Linked DNA regions of Homo sapiens: region 2 is linked to region 1. Evidence: promoter capture Hi-C in 16 types of primary human blood cells and fetal thymus (Javierre and others, 2016). All regions are on one chromosome and are shown on one strand. The core of a region is centred on a gene start or on the middle of the fragment in contact, and the rest is flanking DNA. Distances in the headings are between cores, read along the strand shown.

Region 1 (6,833 bases), core at 1,864-4,363:
CCTCTGCTCTGCATGCCTGTTCCTTTATGTCTGTATGTTCTGTGTTGAAATGGCATATCTTTTTTTTTTTTTGGACACGGGGTATCCCTCTGTCCCCCAGGCTGGAGTGCAGTGGCTCGATCCCAGCTCACTGCAGCCTCTTGGGCTCAAAAGATGCTCCCTGGCCAGGCTCAATCACGTCTGTAATCCCAGCACTTTGGGAGGCCAAGGTGGGCAGATAACGAGGTCAGGAGTTTGAGACCAGCCTGGCCAAAATAGTGAAACTCTGTCTTTACTAAAAATACAAAAATTAGCTAGGTGTGGTGGCACGCCTCTGTAGTCCCAGCTACTAGGGAAGCTGAGGTAGGAGAATCAGTTTAACCTGGGAGGTCGAGGTTGCATTGAGCTGATACTGTGCCATTGCACTCCAGCCTGCGTGACGGAGTGAGACTGTCTCAAAAAAAAAAAAAAAAAGGCCAGGCGCGGTGGCTCACACCTGTAGTCCCAGCACTTTGGGAGGCTGAGGCGGGCGGATCACGAGGTCAGGAGATCGAGACCGTCCTGGCTAACACGGTGAAACCCCGTCTCCCCTAAAAATACAAAAAATTAGCAGGGCGTGGTGGCAGGTGCCTGTAGTCCCAGCTACCTGGGAGGCTGAGGCCGGAGAATGGCGTGAACCCGGGAGGTGGAGCTTGCAGTGAGCCGAGATTGCGCTCCTGCATTCCAGCCTGGGCAACAGAGCGAGACTCCGTCTCAAAAAAAAAAAAAAAATGCTCCCACCTCAGACAGACCCCCAACCCCCACCTCAGTAGCTGGGACAACAGGCTCATACCACCATGCCTAATTTTTAAATTTGTTGTAGAGATGGGTTCTCACTATGTTACCTAGGCTGGTGAACTGGGCTCAAGCGATCCCCCTCCTCTGCCTCCCAAAGTGCTGGGATTCCAGGCATGAGCCACTGCGCCTGGCCGATGTCATATCTTTAGGAGCGCTTCCCTGACCACTCTGTTTAAATAGCATCCCCCGCCCTTCCCTTGTTTTCTCTGATCATTCTCTGCTATATTTTCCTTCACAGCCTGTCACTCCAGAAAGGATTAGTTTTTCTGTTTCTTGCTTCCTTGCTAGAGAATGAATTTCATGAGGGACTTTGTCTGTGTTATTCATGTTCCCTTAGTATCTCAGGTAGTGCCTGGCACATGATAGACATGTAATAAAAATTAGTTGAATAAACAAGTGAATGAAATAATTGGGCAAATATGCATAGATAATGTAGAAGGACTTTTATTGCAACATTGTTTGAAAGTGACAATTATAAATTACTCGGTATTTACTAATAGGAATCCTGTTGAATAACTTAGGGTGTATTCTTACAATGTAATAGAGGAACTTCCCAATAAGGTCCCACACTGTGCTGATGCCCTGAGACACTGTGGCACACGGTGGGCACAGTGAGGTATTTTAAATTTCCAAGAGAAACACAGGTACATTTGTCAGATACCCTGGAACTCCTAGTTCCTGGTAGTTCTGTTTCAACATTAGATGGTGCCAAATCCCTTTCTATAATGTCATATTTTTGTGAAACTGGGTTTTTAGCAGTTGCTAAGTACAGGCAAAAATCAGTTTGTAGAAGAAATAAAGGTGGTGCTGTTTAGTCTGATTCCAAGGTTTGAGAGGTGCAGTGCCTAACAGGCGCCATAAGTGAGTGAGATGGTTATTTGGTAAAGAAATAAAAATGTTATTTTGTTTTAATATATTAATAGTATTTTCAACTTGTGTGTATTTTCTCAAATGGCTAGTAAGTTCCTAGGACATAAATGCTTAAGTTGTTTGGGTCTAGGTGCTTAATAAATTGCTGTCTTTTCTTGGAAAGATGGAGTCTTGCTCTGTTGCCTAGGCTGGAATGCAGAGGTGAGATCTCAGCTCACTGTAACCTCTGCCTCCTGGGTTCAAGCTACTCTCCTCCCTCAGCCTCTCAAGCAGCTGGGATCACAGGCATCCGCCACCATGCCCGGCAATTTTTGTATTTTTGGTAGAGACAGGGTTTCACCACATTGGCCAGACCGGTCTCAAACTTCTGACCTCAAGTGATCTGCCCACCTTGGCCTCCCCAAGTGCTGGGATTGCAGGTGTGAGCCACCGCGCTCGGCTGTGGCTCTCTTTTGACCTAGTAAGTGCTGTGAGAGTTACTGAAATGGTAAGGGCACTGTGGGCTGTTGATAATGTTAGGGAATCTATGGATAAATGAAAAAGTTACTCAGAAGTATGCAGAGTGAAGGCCTTATGTTAAAGTGGGAACGTATTTACGGTTTTTTTAAAGCATGAAAAAAAATGCATGCCGTGGCTCATGCCTGTAATCCCAGCACTTTCGGAGCCTGAGGCAGGAGGATCATTTGAGGCCAGGAGTTCAGGACCAGCCTGGGCAACACAGCAAGACCCTATCTCAATTTAAAAATAATAATAACAAATGGGCTGAGCACGGTGGCTCACTCCTGTAATCCCAGCACTTCGGGAGGCCAAGGTGGGCAAATCCCCGAGGGTCAAGAGTTCAAGACCATCCTGTCCAGCCTAGTGAAACCCCGTCTGTACTAAAAATATAAAAAGCAGCTGGGTGTAGTCGTGGGTGCCTGTAATCCCAGCTACTTGGGAGGCTGAGGCATATGAACCACTTGAACCTGGTAGGCGGAGGTTGTACTGACCCAAGATGGAATAATAACAAATAAAAGTATGGGACACTGTTGACAAAGCTCTACCAGAGTCATCTCTGGGGTGTAGGATTGTTGGGCTTCGATAGTGCTCTGCATGTCTTGCAGTTTATACGATGTCTGTATTTTGAGGGACCAACAGACGGTTCAATTTTGGGTAGAAGGATGGGTGAGGGTGAGTAAGGTGCCTCTTGTTGTGAAACAGGTGGTATTTTAGGCTAAAATGTTTTACAGAAGTCTTAGGGGTCAGAGTGTATGGAGGTACGGAGGGGTCTTTGAATTGGCTTTGAGATAGAGCTGTTGTCCTTGCTGTTAGAAGATGGATTTAGATGTTGCTAGGTGAGGGGAAGGTTACAAGGCGGGTTGGTACTAGAGCTTTGTACCAGCGTGTGCACAAAATTTTGGGGAAAGAGGGTGCTGGATTTCCTTCGCAGTAGTTGACCCCTATTCATTAAAAACAACTGTCTATCATGGAATGCATAACTTATTTATACCCTGACTTATTTAAATAAGGATTTAAAGCAGTAATCTGTTCTTTTTTTTTTTGATACGGACTCCAGCTCTGTTGCCCAGGCTGGAGTATAGTGGCACAGTCTGTGCTCACTGCAACCTCTGCCTCCTGGATTCAAGCGATTCTTCTGCCTCAGCCTCCCGAGTAGCAGGAACTACAGGAGCACGCCACCACACCCAGCTAATTTCTTTTTTGTATTTTTAGTAGAGACGGGATTTTACTGTGTTGTCCAGACTGGTCTCGAACTCCTGACCTTGTGATCCACCCACCTTGGCCTCGCAAAGTGCTGGGATTACAGGCATGAGCCACCGCACCTGGCCTAGTTTTTGTATTTTTATTAGAGACAGGGTTTTACCATGTTGGCCAGGCTGGTCTCGAACTCCTGACCTCAGGTGATCTGCCTGCATTGGCGTCCCAAAGTGCTGGGATTACAGGCTTGAGCCACTGCGCCTGGTCAATAATGTATTCTTTTAGGTAGAGTGTGGGCTACATTGATGAGTGAGAAGATGATCCTTGTTTTCAAGTTACCTATAATCTTGTGAGGGATTTCCTATGTATGCAGCAAATAGTTACTGAGCCTCAACCATATGTTGGTTACTGTGCTAGGTGCTGAGGATATGAAGAGAAAACATGACCCTTGCCCTCAAGGATTACAGTCCAATGAGAGAGACAGATGTGTCACCAAGTAATTAAAATTGGGCTGAGAACCTTGCTGGGGTGTGCATAAGACTAGGAAGAGTTAGAGAAGACTTCATAAGGAGGTGACCTCTGAACTGGGTCTTAAAGAATAAATAGAAGTTTACTCCCAAGGGGGTGTGTGAAGCAAAAGGAGATTTGAGAAATCTATTGTATTTAGAACATAAATGTGGGAGGCGGGTAGGAGAATGTGGTACCAAATAAAGCTGTAAAAGCAACTTGAAGCCAAATTGTAATAAGGACCTTGTTAGCTTTGCTAAAGCAGAGGAAAGAGGACGAGTATTTACTGAGATTCAATGACAGCCCTTTTGTTATTGTGGCCTCAGGGGCAGAACCCAAAGAGAACCCAGCCTGACTGGCCACCCCCTCAAGTGTTTAACCTTTATCCTGTAGGCAGTGAGAACCATTGTTGGCCGAAGGGTTGGGGGCTAATTTAAAATGACAGTTTGAGGCCTGGTGCGGTGGCTCACGACTGTAATCCCAACACTTTGGGAGGCTAAGGTGAGTGGATCACTTGAGGCCAGGAGTTTGAGACCATCCTGGCCAACATGGTGAAACCCTGTCTCTACTAAAAATACAAAAATTAGCCAAGTGTGGTGAGCACCTGTAATTCCAGCTACTTGGGAGGCTGAGGCACAAGAATCACTTGAACCTGAGAGGCAGAGGTGGCAGTGAGCCGAGATTGTACCACTGCACTCCAGCCGGGGTGACAGCAAGACCCTGTCTCAAAAAAAAAAAGTAAAATAAAATAAAAAATGAGAGTTCGTGAACTTGGTGATGGAGGGATAGCTCTTCTCATTAACAAGGATATGCGTGTCTGCTGTCTAGGACACCCCCTGACCCGGTCTCAGAAAGCCTGAAAGCAGAATTAGTCATTAGAAGGGTGGTTGGCTTGGTCGGCATAGACTTTGAGCAGAAAGAGGTTGAAAATGTTGAGCCTGATTTCTCTTAGGCCCCTCTGCAGTGTCTGTTGTGGAGGCCAGATACGTAACTGCTTCCGCTTTTTTTGGTCTCATTCAAGGTGAGCAAATCCCCTTCATGTTTCTCACCAGACAATGCAGCTGATGAGGTTCCAGCTTTGCAAATGTAGTCATCCATGAGGACTGTCTTCCTGAGATTTCATCAGGTCATGTTGATGAGAGTTTTGAACCTGTCTGAGGCTGAGAGGTGTGCAGAACTTCTTCAGCTTTGCATCTGTAGACCATTTTGGTTTCTACCCAGCAGTGGCCAATCAGACCTATTATGAGGGGATTACTGGTTTGACTGTCAGAGGGTAACCTCTCTTTTTCCAAGTTTTTTGAGGGTACCTCCCTCCAGTGGAGAGTCCTAAGCAGTAGGTCAATTTAACAGACATTTGTTAGGAGCCCACCATGTTTCAGGCAGGCACATGGGATTCAGGATGGTTGAGGCATTCTGCCTGCCTGAGAGGTGCTTATAGTTATAGGGAAGACAGACCCCCATAGGTCATTTTATTGCATTGTTGTATGTGCAGTGATAGAGGGCTGTGGAAGCACAGAGGAGGGGTGCCTGTCTACTTTGGGCAGGCTGTGGAAAGGCTTCCTGGAGGAAGCAGTGCCTGAGCCGAGTCTTGAAATAGGAGTTTTGCAGTGGGAAGAGCATTCCAAGCAGAGAGGCACTAGCATATAGAAAACCCCGGAGGAACGCAGCACGTGTTGCGCTGGATGTGATAGGCGACTCCAGGGAATTGTTACTGAGGAGTGAACAGGAAGGTGTGGAGCATCAGGGAAATGAAGGTTGAGAACATCATAAAATCCTTTTGGGAAGCTGTCCTGCTGAGTTTGGATGTCAGTCTGAGGACAAGAGGGTATGAATGATTACATTTTTAGTTTATTATTAATTTTTATTTTATTTATTTTTAGCACACATTTTTATTTTAGAATGAGCACCCCAGTTGTAATGTAGAAGGATTGGAGAGAGACAGGCTGGTGACCCATAGGAACGCTCTGTTGTAGACTACAAAGGAAGGGCCTGAACTAGGGCAATGGTGGTGGGGATGGAGAAGAGAGGCAAGATTCAAGAAACACTTAGGAGGCCAGGCGTGGTGGCTTATGTGTGTAAACCCAGCTGAGATTCCCGCCACTGCACTCCAGCCTGGGTGACAGAGCAAGACTTCTTAAAAAAAAAAGGGAGGTAAAAGTGACCAGTACCTGGTGAATGACTGAATAATAATAATGTCCATTCATAAAGCGCCAATTACATCCTGGACTTAAGCAAGCTAATTAAGTCCTTAATGGTTACATAGTTCATAAGTAATATAGGCAGAATTCCAAAGCAAGGGTGCCCGACAGCTAAGTCCATGTTCTTTGGACTGTTTTGTGCTTGAAGGTAAGGAAAGGTAAGCATAGGTTTCTGAATCTGGGATAGAGACTAAAGGAAAAAGAGAAGCTTTTGTGGAAAAGAGAGTTTGCTTTTAAACATGTTTAATTTGATTTTTTGGTGTGATGTTTGCAGGGGGTTCAGTAGGTAGTCACATACGTGAACCCAAAGTCCAGAAGAAAAGTAAGGCCTGGAATTAGAGAGTTGAGAATGAGTATCCAAGCATACCTTGGAGATACTGTGAGTTTGGTTCCAGCCCACCGCAATAAAGCAAGTCACATGGAGTTTTTTGGTTGCCATTGTGCATGTTACATTAGTACTATGCTGTAGTCTACTAAGTCTAAGTGTACAATAGCATTACAATTTTTTTTTTTTTTTGAGACGGAGTCTTGCTCTGTCATTCAGGCTGAAGTGCAGTGGTGCGATCTCAGCTCACTGCAACCTCCGCCTCCTGGGTTCAAGTGATTCTCCTGCCTCAGCCTCCCGAGTAGCTGGGATTACAGGTACCCATCACCACACCCAGCTAATTTTTTTGTATTTTTAGTAGAGATGGGGTTTCACTATGTTGGCCAGGCTGGTCTCAAACTCCTGACCTCAGGTGATCCACC
Region 2 (6,833 bases), core at 622-3,121, 71 kb before region 1:
GAGGACAGACACAGATTTCCTGCTGGGGGAGGGAGGAGTCCACGCATCCTGATGCTGCCTGGAAGCTTATTTTCCCGTGGCCAGGACGCATTTCTCTGAGTGGAAACAGGTTCTTGCATGTGGATGTGTGTTTCCCCAGGCAGACGGCCCCTCTCTTCCCAGCACTTCCCTGCCTCCCCCAGGCCTCAGGCCCAGCACCCAGTTCCTCCTCACATGGCAGGTGAGCACAGACTTCTAGTTGGCAGGAGCTGAGGAGGGTGAACAAACCCCGAGGGAGGCCCGGCCCTTGCTCCCGAGTTGGGGGGAGGGGGTGTGGCAACGTGCCCCCCGCAGAGGCCACGCATGTTTGACCAAAGCCCTCATTGTGGTCCGAGGACAGCCTTTTCCCCAGGCCTCAGAGCATTGCTCATCCGTGCCAAACTGGGTAGGTGGATTTGAGCGGAAAGACTCCCAAAATGTGCCAAGAATTTCCCAGTCCCAGGCAGGGCAGGGGAAACTAAGGGCAAGCAGGATACAGGGCGAGGGATGTGGCAGGTGAGGGGGCTCCCGCCTGTGCCCCTTCTCCTCACCATGTCTCCCCCACCCTGCCTCAGTTCTCCGTTCCCCTTCATCTCCGTCCCCCTCTTTGAAGCTGTCCCCATCTCAGTGTCAGACCAGCCTTCTCCTCAGCTGACCACCCTCCTCTGACCCACGCCCCCTCCTTGTCTGAAAGAAAGGAGCCTTGAATGGTGGAGGGAGGCAGTGGGGAGAAAGGTCTCACCGGACAGGTTGGGAGAATGAGGTCAGCGGTGCTGGGGAACAGATGGAGGGGGCAGTGGGGACAGGGCTTGGGCAGACACCAGCAGGAATAATTTGAAATGTGTGAGGTGACTCCCCGGAGGGCCTTGGGCTTGGGCATTTGGGAAAAGAATGATGTCTGGAAGGGCTTAAGGGACACAGTGGACGAGGGGAGAGTCCTCATCTGCTGGCATTTTGTGGGGTGTTAGTGCCAAACTTGAATAGGGGCTGGGGTGCTGTCTTCCACTGACACCCAAATCCAGAATCCCTGGTCTTGAGTCCCCAGAACTTTGCCTCTTGACTGTCCCTTCTCTTCCTACCTCCATCCATGGAAAATTAGTTATTTTCTGATCCTTTCCCCTGCCTGGTCTAGCTCCTCTCCAAACAGCCATGCCCTCCAAATGCTAGAGACCTGGGCCCTGAACCCTGTAGACAGATGCCCTCAGAATTGGGGCATGGGAGGGGGGCTGGGGGACCCCATGATTCAGCCACGGACTCCAATGCCCAGCTCCTCTCCCCAAAACAATCCCGACAATCCCTTATCCCTACCCCAACCCTTTGCGGCTCTGTACACATTTTTAAACCTGGCAAAAGATGAAGAGAATATTGTAAATATAAAAGTTTAACTGTTGGTTGTGCCTGCTCTGTTGTGGGGAGGGCGGTCTCTAAAGAAACAAGCCCTGGGGAAGTGACGAGGGAGGAGGGGTCTTTTCAGTGACCAGCTCTGAGGTCTGAGAGGAAGGGGGAGTGTGTGCTGGGGTCTGGTTGCCATGGTAATGGGTCTGTTTGGCAAATGAATGTCAGGACCCGTGTCTATGCCGAGACTGGAGCCTGGTGTCGTTCTATAATGGAAGGACAAAGGCTGATGGGGGCAGATGTCAAACAGGCCAGAGGCCCAGTGGGCTGGTGTAGGCAGCTAGCTCAGCAGAGGTATGTGAGGTGAGAGGCATGGCCTCTGCCAAGGCCTGGACTCAGGCGAGAGGGTCAGCCACGGGTCCAGGACTCAGGGTAGCCCCTTGGCACACTGGAAGGGAGTGGCCTGGCACCATTGTGACCCGTTCACTCCCAAGACCCTCAGGGACAGGCAGGCAGTCAGTGGACACTGTCGGCACGGTGGGCTGGGGGCGTAAGGGCCCCGGTGGTCCTAGGGACCCCATGGCCATGGTTGAGCGGCCGAGGCCCGAGTGGGCCTCGTATCACAACTGCAACAGCAACAGCTGCCAGGACCTGGGCAACTCTGTCCTGTTGCTGCTGGGCCTCATCATCTGCATTAACATTAGCATCAATATAGTGACCCTGGTCAGGGTGGGGCCAGATGGGAGGGAGCTGGTGGGATAGTGGGGGGCAGGCCTGCCGGCCAGGGCCTACCTGGGATCACTGTGTCTTCCCCCACCTAGCTCTGGAGCCGATTCCGTGGTGTCTTATACCAAGTGTTCCATGATACCATTTGTGAGAAAGGTAAGAGGTCTGGGGGCTGGGACATAGGAGGGGCAGAAACCAAGTGCTCTAGCCTCAGCCCTAAATTAGCCCCTTCCCTTCTTGCTCGCCCCTCTCAGACAACATAGCTGTGTGGCTGCCCTTCCTGGGCCCTGCCTCTCCATGCCTGTAGGAGCTGGCCTCCCCACTAGTCTCACCTCTCCCCCATCCACAGAAGCTCCCAAGTCATCATTACTCAGAAAGCAGACCCAGCCCCCTAAGAAGCAGAGTTCTCCTGCAGTCCATCTTCGGTGCACCATGGACCCTGTGATGATGACTGTGTCCCCGCCCCCAGCTCACCGCCATCGCCGTCGAGGCTCTCCCACACGCTGTGCTCACTGCCCAGTAGCTTGGGCTCCTGACACTGATGACGAGAAGCCTCATCAGTACCCAGCCATCTGCTCCTACCACTGGGATGTCCCTGAGGACTGGGAAGGCTTCCAACACACTCAGGGGACCTGGGTTCCCTGGTCTCAGGATGCCCCAGAGTCCCCTCCCCAGACCATCCGCTTCCAGCCTACCGTAGAGGAAAGGCCCCTCAAAACAGGCATATGGTCCGAGCTGGGCCTAAGGGCCTATGTGTATCCTGTGAACCCCCCACCTCCCAGCCCTGAGGCTCCTAGCCACAAGAACGGTGGGGAGGGGGCGGTGCCAGAGGCAGAGGCGGCTCAGTACCAGCCTGTCCCAGCTCCCACCCTGGGCCCAGCAGTCATCCCTGAATTTTCCCGGCACCGCTCCTCAGGCCGAATAGTGTATGATGCCCGGGACATGAGACGGCGGCTTCGGGAACTGACCCGGGAGGTGGAGGCCCTGTCCGGCTGCTACCCCCTAGCCTCTGGATCCAGCACTGCCGAGGAGACAAGCAAGAATTGGGTGTACCGTTCCCTAACTGGGAGGTGACTGGAAAAAAATAAAAAGGAGAGAGGAGGTGATCTGTGGTGGTGCTGGGGTGCCAGGGCCCACACAGCACCTAGAAGCTGTGGCTGTGAAGAGAATGCTCTCCCTAGCCACAGGGCCCTGAGCCCTGAGGACCCTCATTAACCTTTTGCCCCACAGGCCTGTCCCTGTCCTCAGCCTTTCCTAGGCCCTTCTGGGTTCCAAGGCTCTTACCTGCCTCTACCTTGTTTTCAATTTTTTTTTTTTTTTGAGACAGGGTCTTCTCTGTTGCCCGGGCTGGAGTGCAGTGGTGCAATCACAGTTCACTGCAGTCCCAACTGTCTCCCACCTCAGCCTCCTGAGTCACTAGGACTACAGGCATGGGCCACTAGTTTGTTGTTGTTGTTGTTGTTTGTTCGGTTGGTTGGTTTTTGTGTGGGGGGGGTTGTTTTTGTTTTTAAGACAGAGTCCTATTCTTGTCACCCACACTGGACTGCAATGGCACAATCTTGGCTCACTGCAACCTCTGCCTCCCAGGTTCAACCAATTCTCCTGCCTTCAGCCTCCTGAGTAGCTGGGACTACAGGCGTGTGCCACCATGCCCTGCTAATTTTTGTATTTTTAGTGCAGATGGGGTTTTGCCATGTCGGCCAGGCTGGTCTTGAACTCCTGACCTCAGGTGATCCGCCCGCCTCAGCCTCCCAAAGTGCTGGGATAACAGGTGTGAGCCACCCCACCCCAGCCGCACCACTATTTTTTGTAGAGATTGGGTTTCACTACTTTGCCTAGGCTGGTCTCAAACTCCTGGGCTCAATCGATCTGCCTGCCTCAACCTCTGAAAGTTCTGGGATTACAGGTGTGAGCCACTGTGCCCGGACTGTTTCCTCCCCCTCCCCTGAGGCAGGGTCTTGATCTGTCACTCAGGCTGGAGGGCAGTGGTGCAATCATGGCTCACTGGAGACTCAACCTCCTGAGCTCAAGCAGTCTTCCTGCCTCAGCCTCCTGAGTAGCTGGGACAACAGGCACCACCACGCCCAGTTAATTCCTTGTTTTCTTTAGTGCACAGAGAAGCCCCTAAATTCTACCCCAGGTCCCCAGGCAGTCGTGCACTAGAGGAGAGATCTCCATCTCCATGGCCCTAGCTCCTCAGAAGGCTGGTGCCTGCCAGAGCCCAGCGTTAGGCTGCAGCCACCGGTGAGGCCTGGTTCCCACGTAAGCCCTGATTTATTTGGGGAGGGATGGCTGAGAGGGCGTCTAGTCCTTCACAGTTCCCCAGTCACCCTGAAGGTCCTATACCCTTAAGCAGGATTGGAGCAGAGGAGGAAATATTGGGGCCCCCTTGGCTGGGCGCAGTGGCTAACGCCTGTAATCCCAGCACTTTGGGAAGCCGAGGCGGGCGGATCACGAGGTCAGGAGGTCGAGACCTCTTGGCTAACACAGTGACACCCCGTCTCTACTAAAAAATGAAAAATAAAAAATAAAAAAATTAGCTGGGCATGATGGTGGGCGCCTGTAGTCCCAGCTACTTGGGAGGCTGAGGCAGGAGAATGGTGTGAACGTGGGAGGCAGAGGTTGCAGTTAGCCAAGATGGCGCCCCTGCACCCCAGCCTGGGCGACAGAGCGAGACTCCATCAAAAAAAAAAAAAAAGGCCGGGCGTGGTGGCTCACATCTGTAATCCCAGCATTTTGGGAGGCCGAGGCGGGCAGATCACAAGGTCAGGAGATTGAGACCATCCTGGCTAACATGGTGAAACCCCATCTCTACTAAAAATATGAAAACAAAAAATTAGCCGGGCGTGGTGGTGGGCGCCTATAGTCCCAGCTACTTGGGAGGCTGAGGCAGGAGAATGGTGTGAACCCAGGAGGCGGAGCTTGCAGTGAGCCGAGATTGCACCACTACACTCCAGCCTGGGCAACAGAGCGAGACTCCATCTCAAAAAAAAAAAAAAAGAAGAGAAATATTGGGGCCCCCCTCAAGAGGTACCTCACTGTAACATCACAGCTCTCTGTGACCTCACTCCTTTGATTAACTCACCATGTCACCAGTGAGGAGACTAAGTTCAGAGAAGCTAAGGGTCTTGCTCATGGTTACACAGACACTGAGGATCAAGCTCATGGCCTCAGATGCTCCATCCCATTGCTGCAGAGCCAGCCTGACCCACCAGAACCTCCCACCTTCCCCAGTTCACCATGTGAACTCAGAAACTGAGAAACAGAGAAACTCAGGCCCTGCCTTTCTGCTACACAATTGGGATCATATGCACATGCACACACATACCACTTGAGAACAAGCAGCTGTGTGCGTGAGCCCAGGCTGAGGGAGCTGGACTTCACCTTCCACTCTAGACAGATTCCTGGAATGTGAGCAGACGGACCGTTTACAAATGGCCCTACTTCTCTCATTCAACTAACGTTACTGATCATTTTCAATGGATTCCATTCAGTGGAATCTGAATCTACTCTGCATCTACTCTGTGTTTGGAGGCTGGATGGGATATGATCACTGGCCTTTCTTTCTGCTGAGTGGTTCACTGTGTAAACAAATGGCTTGCAGTCTCCAGGGCACCACAGACCCCAGTGATGCACCTGTTTTAAGTCAAACACTCTTTTTGGTATATTAACAATTACATGTATTTTGTGCTTTGTTAATTTCATGTGGTTTTCTTGTTGTTGTTGTTGTTGTTGTTGGGTTGTTTGTTTGTTTTGAGACAGTCTCACTCTGTCACCCAGGCCGGACTTCTGTGGCGCGATCTTGGCTCGCTGCAACCTCCACCTCTCAGGTTCAAGCAATTCTCCTGCCTCAGCCTCCCAAGTAGCTGGGATTACAGGCGCCCACCAACATGCCCAGCTAATTTTTGTGTTTTTAGTAGAGGTTTCGCCATGTTGGCCAGGCTGGTCTCAAACTCCTGACCTCAGGTGGTCCACCTGCCTGGGATTATAGGCGTGAGCCACTGCGCCCAGCAAGTTTCCTTCCTTCCTTCCTTCCTTCCTTCCTTCCTTCCTTCCTTCCTTCCTTCCTTCCTTCCTTCCTTTCTTGTTTTTTTGGAGACAGATTCTCGATGTGTCACCCAAGCTGGAGTACAATGGCGAGAGCTCAGCTTGCTGCAACCTCCACCTCCTGGGTTCAAATGATTCTTCTGCCTCAGCCTCCCGAGTAGCTGGGACTACAGGCGCGCATCACCACACCCAGCTAATTTTTGTATTTTTAATACAGACGGGGTTTCACTATGTTGGCCAGGTTGGAACTCCTGACCTCAGGTGATCCAGCCACCTCAGCCTCCCAAAGTGCTGGGATTATAGGCATGAGCCACCGCGCCCAGCTCGGGTTTTCTTCAGGTAGTAGCTTAACCGTTTTTCACCTTGGAGTAAGGGTGGGTTGGTGGGAGTGTAGGTGGTTAGGTTGGAGAAACCATGGCTGGGGTTGGTTCCCAGCAGAGGCAGCCACCTCAGTGAGTCAGATGTCAGTGTGACGAAGTGGCTGGTGGGCTCAAGGACCACCAACACCTAGGGCTGGAGTCTGGCCAGGAAGAATTGGGCAGAGATGGGAGCTAGAGGACTTTTGACAGGGAAATGGGCAGAGTAGGGAGGGGCTGGTACAGCAGGGTGATGCCTGAGGGGACGCAGTGTCACCCGCCCATCTAGTCACCCTAGATGCTGGCCCCAAAGTAACCATGGGGCAAGGCACGCCAACAGGCTATGTAAGT

Evidence for each region. Contacts are between HindIII fragments. The CHiCAGO score rates a contact against its expected background, and 5 or more counts as called.
Region 2: a contact is called between the fragment with the promoter of SPEM1 here and a fragment that was not itself captured in region 1, in 11 of 17 cell types (naive CD4 T cells, total CD8 T cells, naive CD8 T cells and 8 more). The highest score is 9.7, in naive CD4 T cells.

What each region holds. Positions count from the first base shown.
Region 1 is chr17:7,487,951-7,494,783 of GRCh38, forward strand. The region is part of intron 1 of POLR2A (RNA polymerase II subunit A); the gene reads left to right. Among named protein-coding and RNA genes, the nearest start is that of POLR2A, 7.0 kb to the left of the region's middle. The HindIII fragment of the contact is 6,358 bases long and covers 1-6,292 here.
Region 2 is chr17:7,418,453-7,425,285 of GRCh38, forward strand. It overlaps SPEM1 (spermatid maturation 1), which reads left to right and starts at 1,872. Exons shown (of 3, transcript NM_199339.3): 1 at 1,872-2,076; 2 at 2,175-2,235; 3 at 2,429-3,180. The coding sequence starts at 1,933. The coding sequence ends at 3,153. It overlaps NLGN2 (neuroligin 2), which reads left to right. Exons shown (of 7, transcript NM_020795.4): 7 at 1-1,408. RefSeq lists an enhancer at 1,356-1,875. The HindIII fragment of the contact is 12,172 bases long and covers 64-6,833 here.